Linked DNA regions of Homo sapiens: region 1 is linked to region 2. Evidence: promoter capture Hi-C in 16 types of primary human blood cells and fetal thymus (Javierre and others, 2016). All regions are on one chromosome and are shown on one strand. Each heading gives the region's core, a stretch centred on a gene start or on the middle of the fragment in contact. The rest is flanking DNA. Distances are from core to core; before and after follow the strand shown.

What was found. Contacts are between HindIII fragments. The CHiCAGO score rates a contact against its expected background, and 5 or more counts as called.
Region 1: a contact is called between a fragment that was not itself captured here and the fragment with the promoter of PDE2A in region 2, in 1 of 17 cell types (naive CD4 T cells). The highest score is 5.5, in naive CD4 T cells.

The regions. Positions count from the first base shown.
Region 1 is chr11:73,205,053-73,211,374 of GRCh38, reverse strand. No RefSeq gene overlaps it. Among named protein-coding and RNA genes, the nearest start is that of P2RY2, 10 kb to the left of the region's middle. The HindIII fragment of the contact is 1,142 bases long and covers 4,485-5,626 here.
Region 2 is chr11:72,671,630-72,677,446 of GRCh38, reverse strand. It overlaps PDE2A (phosphodiesterase 2A), which reads left to right and starts at 3,025. Exons shown (of 31, transcript NM_002599.5): 1 at 3,025-3,310. The coding sequence starts at 3,240. RefSeq lists a silencer at 391-440 and enhancers at 1,301-1,801, 1,952-2,576, 2,577-3,203, 3,204-3,829, 3,830-4,456. The HindIII fragment of the contact is 6,386 bases long and covers 1-4,682 here.

The DNA.
Region 1 (6,322 bases), core at 3,806-6,305, 530 kb before region 2:
TTCTTTCTTTTTCTTTCTTTCTCTCCTCTTTTTTGAGACAGGGTCTTGCTCTGTTGCCCAGCCCAGCTCATTGCAACCTCGGCTTCCCAGGCTCAGGTGATCCTCCCAGCTCAGCCTCCCAGCTGGGACTACAGGCTGGTGCCACCACACTCAGCTGATTTTTTATATTTTTAGTAGAGATGGGGTTTCACCATATTGCCCAGGCTGGTCTTGAACTCCTAGGCTTAAGCAATCTGCTTGCCTCAGCCTCCTAAAGTGCTGGGATTATAGGCATGAGTCACTGCGTCCAGCCTCAGTATTTCTTTTTCACTTATATAACCCAGCAGGCTGAAAATGATGTGTCTCCCACTACTTTTTTGTTTATATCAACCTCTCCTTCTATTGCTATTTCATCTATTTTGATCCTCTGTTATTCAATATATAAAAGTACATCCTCACTATGGCTTACATATTTTTATAGATAAAAGTGTCCCCTTTTTGTCCCATCTAATGCTTTTAGCCATATTTTAAAATATTTCTTACATCACTACTACCATCCCCTGCTTTATTTCATTTGCATTTAGCCAGCATAGCTTTGTCTGTGCTTCCAAATGTAAACTTGTTGTGTCATTTAACTTTTCTATTTAAAATTTGGAATGAGTAATATATGGTTCAAAAATGTTATAGTATAGGAAAAAAAGATATTCAGAGAAATGTCTCCCTCCATCCCCCATCATTCAGTTGCCTGATTTCCACTGCTCCCTTCACTCTTAACCTGGAAAGTGTTTTTGTTAGTTTATTGCGTATCCTTGAGTTCCTTTGTGTGAATACAAACATTTCCACTTATTTTCCTTTTTAATTTTTATTTATTTTTAATTTTTTTTAACATGGAGTCTCGCTCTCTCACCCAGGCTGGAGTGCAGTGGCGTGATCTTGGCTCCCTGCAGCCTCCACCCTCCAGGTTCAAGCGATTCTTGTGCCTCAGCCTCTCAAGTAGCTGGGACTACAGGCTTGCACCACCATGCCTGGCTAATTTTTTGTATATATTTTTTTCAGTAGAGACAGGGTTTCACCATGTTGGCCAGGCTGGTTTCAAACTCCTGACCTCAAGTGATCCATCTGCCTCAGCTTCCCTCATTTTCCTTTTTGAAAAAACACAAAAGAGTATCATAAAGATACACACTGACCCTTGCATGTTATCACTTAACAGTGTATCTTGGAGATCTTTCCAAGTCAGTACATTGGAAGCTTCTTCATTCTTTATAAGGGCCGCATAGTATCCCATTGTATAGTCATACCATAATGTATTTAACCAGTCCTCTGTTGGTGGACATTTGGGTTGTTGCCAATTTTTTGCTAGTACAAACAATGCTGCAATGAATAGCCTTGTACATATTTTTTTGCTTGGGTGTAAATATATGTAGGAAAATTTCACAGAAACTTATTACTCGATCAAAAGGATTGTGCATTTGAAGATGTGATAACTGTTGTCAAATTGTCAGCCACCGAGATTGTATTCATTTACCCTTCCACCAGCAGTGTATGGGAGTGCCTGTATCTCCATAGCCTCATCAACACTGTGATATCAAACTTTTGGATTTTTGCCAGTCTGATAGGTGAAAAGTCATGTCTCAGTGTAGTTTTAATTTGTCAGGTTTTTTTTTTTGTTTTGAGTGCATATCTTCATAACAAAAGTATAATTTATGATCCATTTCCATTTCCTTTTCCATTACAGTCATGAGTTGCTTAAAGACTGGGATGCTTTCTAAGAAACGTGTCACTTTGCGATTTCATCATTGTGTGAACGTGAACACAAACCCAGATGGTATAGCCTACTACACACCTAGGCTATATGGTATAGCCTATTGCTCCTAGGCCACAAACTTGTACCTGTACTGAATACTAGAGGCAATTGTAATACAATGGTAAGTATTCGTATATCTAGACATATCTACACATAGAAAAGGTACAGTAAAAACACAGTATTATAATCCTATGGGACCACTGTTGTATATGCAGTTCATCATTGATCAAAACATCACTATGCGGTGCATGACTGTATATCCTTTAGCCATTTTTCTATTAAGTTGTTGGTCTTACTGATTTGCATTAGCTTATTGTATTTTAGGAAGATTATTCATCCCTCTGTCTGTGACCTGAATTGAAAATATTTTTTCCTAGTTTGTCATTTGTCTTTAGGTTTTACTTAGTGTCTTAGTCCATTTTCTGTTGCTATGACTGAATACCATAGACAGGGTAATTAATAAAGAATAGAGATTTATTTAGCTCATGATTCTGGAGGCTGGGAAGTTCAAGAGCATGGTTCAGGCATCTAGTGAGGGCCTTCCTGCTGTAGCATGACATGGTGAGAGGTATCGCATGGCAATACGGAGCAAGCATGCTAGCTTAGGTTTCTCTTCCTCTCCTTATAAAGCTACCAGTCCCATCATGTGGGCCCCACCTTGATGACTTTGTCTAATCCTAAGTGCCTCCTGAAGGCCCCACTTCCAATCAACAATGAATTTAGGGATTAAGTCACTAACACATGAAATTTGGAGGACATGTTCAAATCATAGCACTTAGGTTTGTAACTTTTTTTTAACATAGAAGTTTTAATTTTTCTGTGATTTAATTTATCAATCTTTTATTTTTATTTTTATTTTTTTTTTATTCAGGGTCTCATTTTGTCCCCCAGGCTGGAGTGCAGTGGCATTTTCTCAGCTCACTGCAGCCTTGACCTCCCAGGCTCAAGCAATCCTCTCTCCTCAGCCTCATAAGTACCTGGGACTACAGGCGTGCACCACCACACCTAGCTAATTTTGTTTTGTTTTTTGTAGAGACAAGGTCTCACTATGTTGCCCAAGCTGGTCTCAAACTCCTGTACTCAAGTGATCCTCCTACCTCAGCCTCCCAAAGTGCTGGGATTACAGATGTGAGCCATGGCACCTGGCCAATCTCTTCTTTTATGGCTTCTGGAGTTTGAGTCATAATTAGAAAGGTTTTTCTACTCCAACATTTCTTCCCCATATATTCTTTTAATACTTGTTTTTCTCTTTTTTCACGTTTATCTTTAATACATGTATTTGGATATTCTGTATTATTTTAAGTATTTCTTGTAAGCAGCATATTATGTAGTTGACTTTTGTTTTTAAACATGAGAATATAAAAATATTTGCCTTCAATAACTTAGCTTAATTTGTTTATATATATTTCATAATAATGTGGCCTCATTTTGCTTCATTTTTGTGCTTCCTTATTGCTTTATTTTTTGTTCTTTGCTATACTTTTTAGGCTTTTCTTGCTTTTAGCTTCTATAATGATTTTGAAGGTGAAGATCAAGTTTGTAATTCTTTAAACCTTTTTTTCTTTTGAGACAGGATCTCGCTCTGTCACCCAGGCTGGAGTGCAATGGTGGGATCTCAGCTCACTACAGCCTCCACCTCCCAGGTTCAAGTAATTCTCATGCCTCAGCCACCCGAGTAGCTGGGATTACCAGCACACGCTGCCACACACAGCTGATTTTTGTATTTTTAGTAGAGATGGGATTTCACCATGTTAGCCAGGCTGGTCTCGAACTCCTGGCCTCAAGTTATCCACCTGCCTCAGCCTCCTAAGGTCCTGGGACTACAGACGTGAGCCACTGCACCTGGCCTTTTTAAATCTTTAGATTAGTCAACCACATATACTTAAATGTATATTTATCAAATTACCAAAGTCAGTAGAAGGTGCTGTTTTTTACACTGTACTGGCTGTGTTTAATGGATCTCTACTTTTGTCTGCATTGTACAGATGAGGAAACTAAAGCTCAGCATGTTTAAGTAGTTTGCCCAAGGTCGCCCAATAATTTTTTTTTTTTTGAGACGGAGTCTTGCTCTGTTGCCCAGGCTGGAGTGCAGTGGCGCAATCTCGGGTCACTGCAACCTCCACCTCCTGGGTTCAAGTGATTGTCCTGCCTCAGCCCACCGAGCAGCTGGGATTACAGGCACACACCACCACGCCCGGCTAGTTTTTGTATTTTTAGTAGAGACGGCGTTTCTCCATATTGGCCAGGCTAGTCTCGAACTTCTGACCTCAGGTGATCTGCCCACCTCAGCTTCCCAAAGTGCTGGGATTACAGGCATGAGCCACCGTGCCCAGCCTAATAATTTTTAATGATCTCTGGATGATGAGAAATTAGCAAGCTTAAGCCAGGCAGGGCAACCCCAGAGCTGGAGTGGAGGAAATCTCGGCTAAACAACAGGGCTGAAAATGAAGGAGGGGCGAATTCCTCAAAGTAAAATCCCTATGGCCTCATAACCTTTCATATGGAACTCTTGGATTTTTGCCAGTCTGATAGGTGAGAAATCATAGCTCACTGTAGTTGTGGTTTGCATTTCTCTTATGAGTGAGACCAACCATCTTTTCATATATTTGAAAGCCATTTGCATCTTCATTTAGATGAACTGCCTATTCATATCTTTTGCCCACTTGGGAGGTACTCAGCAAATAACCACTAAATCAAAGCTTCCTGGATTGTTTGTTTGTTTTGAGAATACCAAACAGATGACTTTTAGAGTTTTATTCTTTCTTACAGAAAATCATTTCTGAGATAATAAACTCTTCATCTGAACCTTCGGGACAATTTTCTTCCTGCCGGTGCTGTGAGATCTTCTCACAGATTCCATATTGATTGTTTTTGTTCACTCTCTCTTGATCAGGCGGAAATAAAGCCAGGCTAAGGACTGCCCCCTGATCCTTTCAACCTTATGCAGTAAAGCTCAATAATTGTGGAAGTCTCAGTTCCACCATTGGACAGCCAGTGTAGACACAGAAAAAGAAGCTGACCGGGGTCGATTAGGGGAATTTTCATCATCATATCATGGCACTTGAACAGCACTCTGTGTATGTAAATTCATGTATTATGTGTGTGCATTTGTGTATATATATATACACTAAATACATATGTGCTAAATTTATGCACACACATTAATTTAGTTCTCACAACATTTCTGTAAACAGTACTGTAAACAGTACAACATTCCTGTAAATAGTACTTTTACTGTTTCCATTTTACAGATGACCAAGGTGAGGCACAGAGAGGTTATATAACTTGTCCAAGCTCACACAGCTAAAATCTGGTGGAACCATAACTACCTACATGATCTGATCCCAGAATCCATTCCCTCAATCATTCTGACCGGCTTGGAAGATAATTTCTGTGTTGTTAAGCCATGACCAAACATCCATCTGGTCACTGCTGCCCCTGAGTCTCTGAGACTGGTGTAGGCAGTGGGGATTAGTCTCTCTTATCTACTTTGGAACCTTCGGTTCTTCATTCATTAATTCATTTAATCCTCTGATTCATTCAATAAATATGTATTGAGTGCCTACTATGTGTCAAGTCCTGTGCCGGGTGCCAGAGATACCAAGATAAATTAGATATGGTCTTTGTCCTTAAAGGCCTTGAAAGGTGGGGGATAAGACATGGTCAGTTAACGGCACAGATGACACATGCTGTTCTGTTCCAAAGGGAGTAGCAGGTGGTGTGTTGTCTAAGAATGTGTTTCTCAATCTGGCCCCATCTACCATCTGGTTAGCGCAATTTCTCCCTTGCACTTTACCCTGTGATCTTCTCTTATCTTTAGTTTCTAAAGCATCACTGCAAGCTTTTGGATTTCTGCATATCTTCTTGAGCATTTTCACAGGATATGGAGATTAGTCTCATCAGTCATATCTGCTGTCCTTTTTTTATCATCCCAGGAAAGTGTCCTTGTTCCTGTAAGTAATGGGAAGCCAGGGAAGGATTCAGAGTAGGATAGATGGGCACTTTAGAATGACCACTCCAGCTATAATGTGGAAAATAGACTGAATGGTGGAGGTAAGATAAGCAGCCCAGTCAGAAAACTGCTCCAGTGCCCAGGTGGAATTATCTGAGCAAAGACTGCGGCTGGGGGAGACAGGAGGGTATGGATTCAATGAGTATCAAGCAAATGGAATCAAAGGGACTAAGTAATTCAATCAACAGTGTTTAATTAGCACCTGTTAAGTGCCAGGCACTGTGCCAGGTGCCCAGAATACAGCAGGGAACAAGATAGACACAGCCTCTGCCTTCATTGCATCTAGATGGGGAAATGGACAATTGGAGCCTTTACAATAAAAGATGATAAACAATGCAACAGAGGACATCAGGGCACTGCAGGAAAACAGAAGGGGGCACACGAGGGGGCGTGAGGGAAGAGTCCGGGCTGATGCCTGGATTTCTGCCTTGGCTGCAGGAGTATATGATGGGGCCATCGTCTGAGCCAGAGAATCCAGGAGGGCAGAACCCTATGGACGTCTCTCTGGGTCCCCCCAAGCCCAGGCC
Region 2 (5,817 bases), core at 1,776-4,275:
CAGCAGGGGACACCCGGAGTTGTTGGTATGCTGGGAGAAGGCTGCATGCTCCGTGGGAGTAGGGTGGAGAATGAGGAGAGACAGGGCCGCCGTCCTGCAAGGAGCATCCATATTGAGGGGGCGAAGATAGGGTGCACCAGTGAGGGAGACAGAGGAGGGGCCGTCTGGAAGGTGGGAGGGAAACAGCCGCGCAGGACGGGGCGGGGGCGGGCGCTGAGAAGAAGCCGCCTTCTTCGGCAAAGAGGTAGCTGAAGCCTGTGGAGCCTGCAGTCCTCTCAAGGCTATGGGGGCAGCGCGGAGGCCGGATTCCAGAACTGAATCTTCCCATCGCTTTGGGCAGCCACCCTACCTCCCAGGAGCATCCTTCCTGCCATCCCACCTCCAGTTCCCCAGCTAACAAAAAACGGTGTTTCTTGACTCCCGGCAGGGCGGCGGGGCGGGCAGGTCTTGTGAACACGGCTCGCAGGGTTCAGCACCCTGGAGAGAGGCCTGTGGCCGGGGCGGGGCCTGCGGCGGGGGTAGGGGCGCGCAGTCAGAGCAGTCGGGCCTTTGGCTCCGTCTGGGAGCGGTCTTGCAGGCAGGCAATTGATGGAGGAGGGAAAAACAATCTTGGATTTTCTCCAGCTCTCTCCCCTTTATGCACCTCCCCCATCCCGGCACTGGCCTACAGGAGCCCCTATCCCAGCATTTGGGGCTATTACTCTCCTGACGACTTCAGGAAATGAGATGGGAGGAGAGGGGCAACTATTTACTGGGAACTTTTCAGACATTCCCAAAACCTCACAACCTTTTGAGCTTGGAATTCGTGACCCCATATTTCAGATGAGGAAACTAAATTGAAGTTCAGGAAGGTGAAATACCTTGCCTAGGCACTTGGCAGAGCTGGGATTTGAATTCCACCTGCCGGGCTCTAAGTCCTGAGTGCCCATTAGCCCTTCTGAGTCCTGAATCTTGCAGTTTGTTCCTGCAGACTCTCCACTTCTGGGTGGCTGTGGAGTCTGGTGTGGCAGTGGGATGGGGAGGAGACCTTCCCTTCCACCTGCTTGCTTGAGTGTATTCCCAGGAGATTTCTGAAGATGAGGCCACCACCATTGTTTCTGAAGTGGGAGGGCAGAAAGGAGGCTGAGGGCCAGGTGAGACCTCGTCACACCTGCACCCATGCATGCCCAGGAGGAACCCTCCTTTGAACTCTTCTGACTCAGCTTCTTGCTGCCAGGTTCCTCCGACCAGTGAGCAGGTTCCCAGGACATGAAGGGGAGCTGTGAGGGAGCAGGACGCCATGGTCCAGGGCTGCAGCTTCCTGAGCCCAGAGAATGCCTTCCTAGCTGTCAGGAATGGAGCAGCGAGGCCCCAGTGATAGGTGAGGTGGAGAAGCAAGACATGAGTTCTGGGCTGGCTCAGCTGCTTTACAACCAGCCTGGGCCTCGTTCCCTTTGAGAAAATGGTTTGCCCAGAGTTCAGAGATCTAAAATTCTATGATGCCTTCTGGGGCCACAGTGGGAAGCAAAGACTCCTCATATTTTCTTTCCTGACACTTCCCAGGCCACAAGACAACTGCTTTCTGCAGCACCCAGCCTGGGCAGGCCATCTACACAAGCTCAGTCATTTCTGACCTTGCCCCCTCCACCGTGCACCCCCATGTTCTTCAACATGGGTCAGGTTTCTATTCAGCCTCAGGGACTTCTCTGCTTGAAGCCTGTTGTGTGGCGGGGAGGTATTCTCCCCACAGCTCAGAGAGATGGGGTTGCTGTGGAGGGTTTGCTGTAGCTCCTCTACCCTGGAATATACCCTCTTCTGCCTTAAAAGACCCAGCTTGGACCCTCTCTTCCAGAAATGCTTGCTAACCGCCCCCCCACCACCCAAACTAGGTCAGGGGTCCCTCTGGGCTTCACAGACCCTGTGCTTCTTTCTGTCACAGCCTGCAAGTCTCCCCTCCCCACTCCCCAGCCCGAGTGCTTCTCTGAGACAAGGGATAGTGTGAGCCATGAGCTCAGCCACTGGTAGGCCAATGAATAAGTAAGTTAATGGTGAAGCCAGGATCCAAATCCCCATTTCCTGCCTCAAGGTGTGGAGCTGTTTCTCCTGCATACAATAGTAGCTCTGCTGTGACAACTCTCTATCTGTCCTAGGGCCTAAAATGCCTCTATTTCACTAGGTTATAGCTTTATCCTAGGGAGTCCTCTTTGGAAGCAGGGTGGGGGTGCAACAGGCCTTCCCCCATGCCTGTAGTCTGTGAGCAGCGAAGGCCATGTGGGGCAGGCTGTGGCCTAGGTCTCCACAGATCCTGGTAGAAGTCCATGCTCACGCATCAGCTCCAAGTCCCAGCTAAACCAAGCCACCAAGAGGTGGGCCCTGTGACAAGGCTCTGAGTCCAAAGGCCATCAGTAAAGCCCCCTAAGTCTTCCGTGGACCCAGCTCCAGGCTGGGATGCACGCTAGGAGATGATACACACCGGGTGAGGGAGCCCAGAGGAGAGGGCAGCTAGCTGTGCATGGAGGCCTGATCTCTCAGACTTGAGGGCACAAGCGTGTCCCCTCATCCTGAAGGCTTCTGCGATGGGGCAGCAGAGGGTCTGGGTCTGCTGCCCCTCAAGTCCCCAGCCCCATCCTAGCCCATGAGGATTGTAAATCCCTCGTCCTCTCCCCTCTCTCCTCTGTCAGCCACTCCCCTTTCCCCCTACCCCACTCTCTTTCTATTTCTGCCTCTGATTTTTTTTCCTTTTCTGCCTTTGTTCCTCTGTGTGTGTGTTTCTCTATGCCTCTCTGGTCTCTTTGTACTTCCATCTTGATCTCGCTAAGGCTCTGATCCCTCTCTCCTCTCCCTCTTCATGTGTTACTGTCCCCCTTCCTGTCTCTGTTTATCTCTCAGTCTCTCTGTCTGTGAGTCTTTTTTCCTCTCTCCCAGTCAGACTCTCTCTCTACCCCTCCCTCTCTCCCTCTCTCCCTCTCTGTCTGGGCCTCTCTCTGTTCCTCCTCCCTCCTCCCTCCCCCTTCTGCATTATCAGACCTGCTCCAACCTCCTCCCAGAGCCAGCCGAGCAGCAGAGGCAGTGGCAGCGGGAGAGGCGGGAGCAGCGGGGCAGCAGAGCTGGATTGGGGTGTTGAGTCCAGGCTGAGTAGGGGGCAGCCCACTGCTCTTGGTCCCTGTGCCTGCTGGGGGTGCCCTGCCCTGAACTCCAGGCAGCGGGGACAGGGCGAGGTGCCACCTTAGTCTGGCTGGGGAGGCGGACGATGAGGAGTGATGGGGCAGGCATGCGGCCACTCCATCCTCTGCAGGAGCCAGCAGTACCCGGCAGCGCGACCGGCTGAGCCGTGAGTATAGTGAGGGGCTGGGGTGGTGAGCGGCTGTGAGAGGTGCCACAGACAGGGTCCTGGGAGTCCCTCCAAGGAGCTGGGGTTGGCATGGAGCTGAGCCACGTGGAAGGATCGATCCTGTTCCTGGGCACCCCTCCTCCCCGCGTTGCCAGACTGCAGCCTGGGGTGGGGGCAGGTTACCTCTGAGCAGAATGAGGGTGTCTAACGTCAACCTAGTAGGTGATGAGGCTGGGGTCCCATGGAAGGGGCTGCTGGTTGGAGGAGGGGCTGATAATGAACCTGAACCGGTTCTTCAAGGGCTGAGGGTGTATGTGGGGAGGGGGAGGTCTGCCAAGTAGTTGGGAGGAGCTCTCGGGGCTGCAATAGGCTGGTTCAGGACCCGGAGAGGGAGAGTGTCTTGGCCCACCAAGGCTATGTGTGTGTGAAGGAGGTGGGGAGGGGGAAAGATGGAGAAAATATGAATAAGAGTGGCCCTGGAGCAAGAGAGGGTTAGAGGTAACCACCTTCCATGGAATTGGGAATTGGGGTTCAGGGACACCACTTTATGAAACTTTACCCCAAAGCGTCTGTCCCAGGATAGGGTTCTACGGAGCCAGATGGAATATGGTGCCAGCCTCGTGTGTGTCCACGTGCAGGGGGGTGCATGTGCAAGTGAGTGGGGGGCGCCGTGGCGACACCCCTCTACTAAGGGCTGCCGAGGTGGTAGGCAGGGTATGTGTGTGTGTGTGTGTGTGTATACATGTGGAATGTAAGGGACATGTTGGGTGTAGAGGGGCCTGTAGAGCTCTAGGGTCCTTGGTGGTTGGATGTAAAGCAGCCTGTCAGAGTTTGTGATCATCCCTGTGTGAGTGAGAGTTTATTCGCATGTGTCTGAGTGTGAGTGCAGGTTGGTCTGCATATGTATGTAGGTGTGTCTATTAGGTTGAGTTTGTATATTATGTGTGTTGTGTCTGCAAAATAGAGTGAATCAGTGTGCATTTTTTATCTGTTCCATGTGCATTTATGTGTGTGTATTTGTTAGTGTGTGAATAATAGCATTGCTGTGTGTGGAGGTGGATGTGGCTGTGTGCGTATAAGTATTCTGGTGTGGGTGTGTGATCATGGTGCTAGTGTGTATATCGGTGCTTCTGTGGCTGGTGTGTGTGTGTATCTATATGTGTGTATTCATCTGAGTGTGTGTGGGTGGCTGTTTCCTTCCCCTGGCAATTGAGGATACAGCTGGGACACCATGGCCCACTGATGCAGGGCAGGGAGGGGCTGAATGTATGACCGCCTCTTTGAACTCAGGACAATTCATTCTACACCCTGTGGGAAAGATGCAGAAAAGAAATAGGCAATAATGACTCTGCCCTCTGGGGCTTCCTAAGCTTCTTAGACATAAAATAGCTTGAGAATAATTAAGCAGTAGAGATCAACGTCATGCTAACAGGTGGGGGTGGGGTGGGAACTGCATAAGCAAAGGCCCTGGGCTGGGCATGTCCTGGAGCAGTGAAGACACTGTATAGAGTGGGGGGCAGGCAGGACCCACATTCAATAGAACTTTAAGATCCAGGACTCTTAGGCTTTATCCAGAGAGCCCTGGGGAGCCCAGAAAGGTTTTATATAGGGGAGAGACATGATCAGATTTGGGTTCTAGAAACCTGCCCTGGGCCAGGCATGGTGGCTCATGCCTGTAATCCCATCACTTTGGGAGGCAGAAGCAGGTGGATCACTTGAGGCCAGGAGTTTGAGACGAGACTGGCCAACATGGTGAAACCCAGTGTCTATTAGAAATACAATAAAATTAGCTGGGTGTGGTGGCACACGCCTGTAGTCCCAGCTACTTAGAAGGCTGAGGCATGAGAATATGAGAATCGCTTGAACTTGGGAGGTGGAGGTTGCAGTGAGCTGAGATTGCCTTACTGCACTTTAGCCTGGGGGTGACAAAGTGAGACTCTGTCTCAAAAGAAGAAAAAAAAAAAGAAGAAGAAAAATAAAGAAACCTGCCTCGGTGGCATTGTCTGGGTTGAACTGGAAGAGAGAGGTGGGGCCAGGAGGCTAGAGTGGAGGCCAAGCCAATACAGGGGTCAGTGAGTTCTGGAGCTTTTTGAGAACTTGGGAAAGGCTGGATAGATGAGAACAGGGAAGGGAATGTCTAGGTGGCTCAGGCTTGGACTGGGGTCAGGGGTGTAGTGCAGACATCTCAGTAAGTCAGGATCTCATGAGGGAAAAGGCTCATGGAAGGCTCAGGAAAGCTGGGCGTGGGTGGGCTGAGGTAGTGGGAGAGATCTTTGTAGTGTTTCTAGCTAGGATGCAGAGGGTCAGAGATCATGGAGCCATCTCTTGCCAGACAGGGAAACTGAGACTATGGCTTCATCACTACCCTTTGGCTGCAAGGCTGGGGCTCAACCTCTTCATCAGACCTGACCCTCAATATCATTCTCCTTCAGGCCCTGCCCGGAACCTCTTGGTTGCTGAGCTTGGTCAGCTCAGTGAGGGTTAATTGTCTTTATGCTCCCTGCACC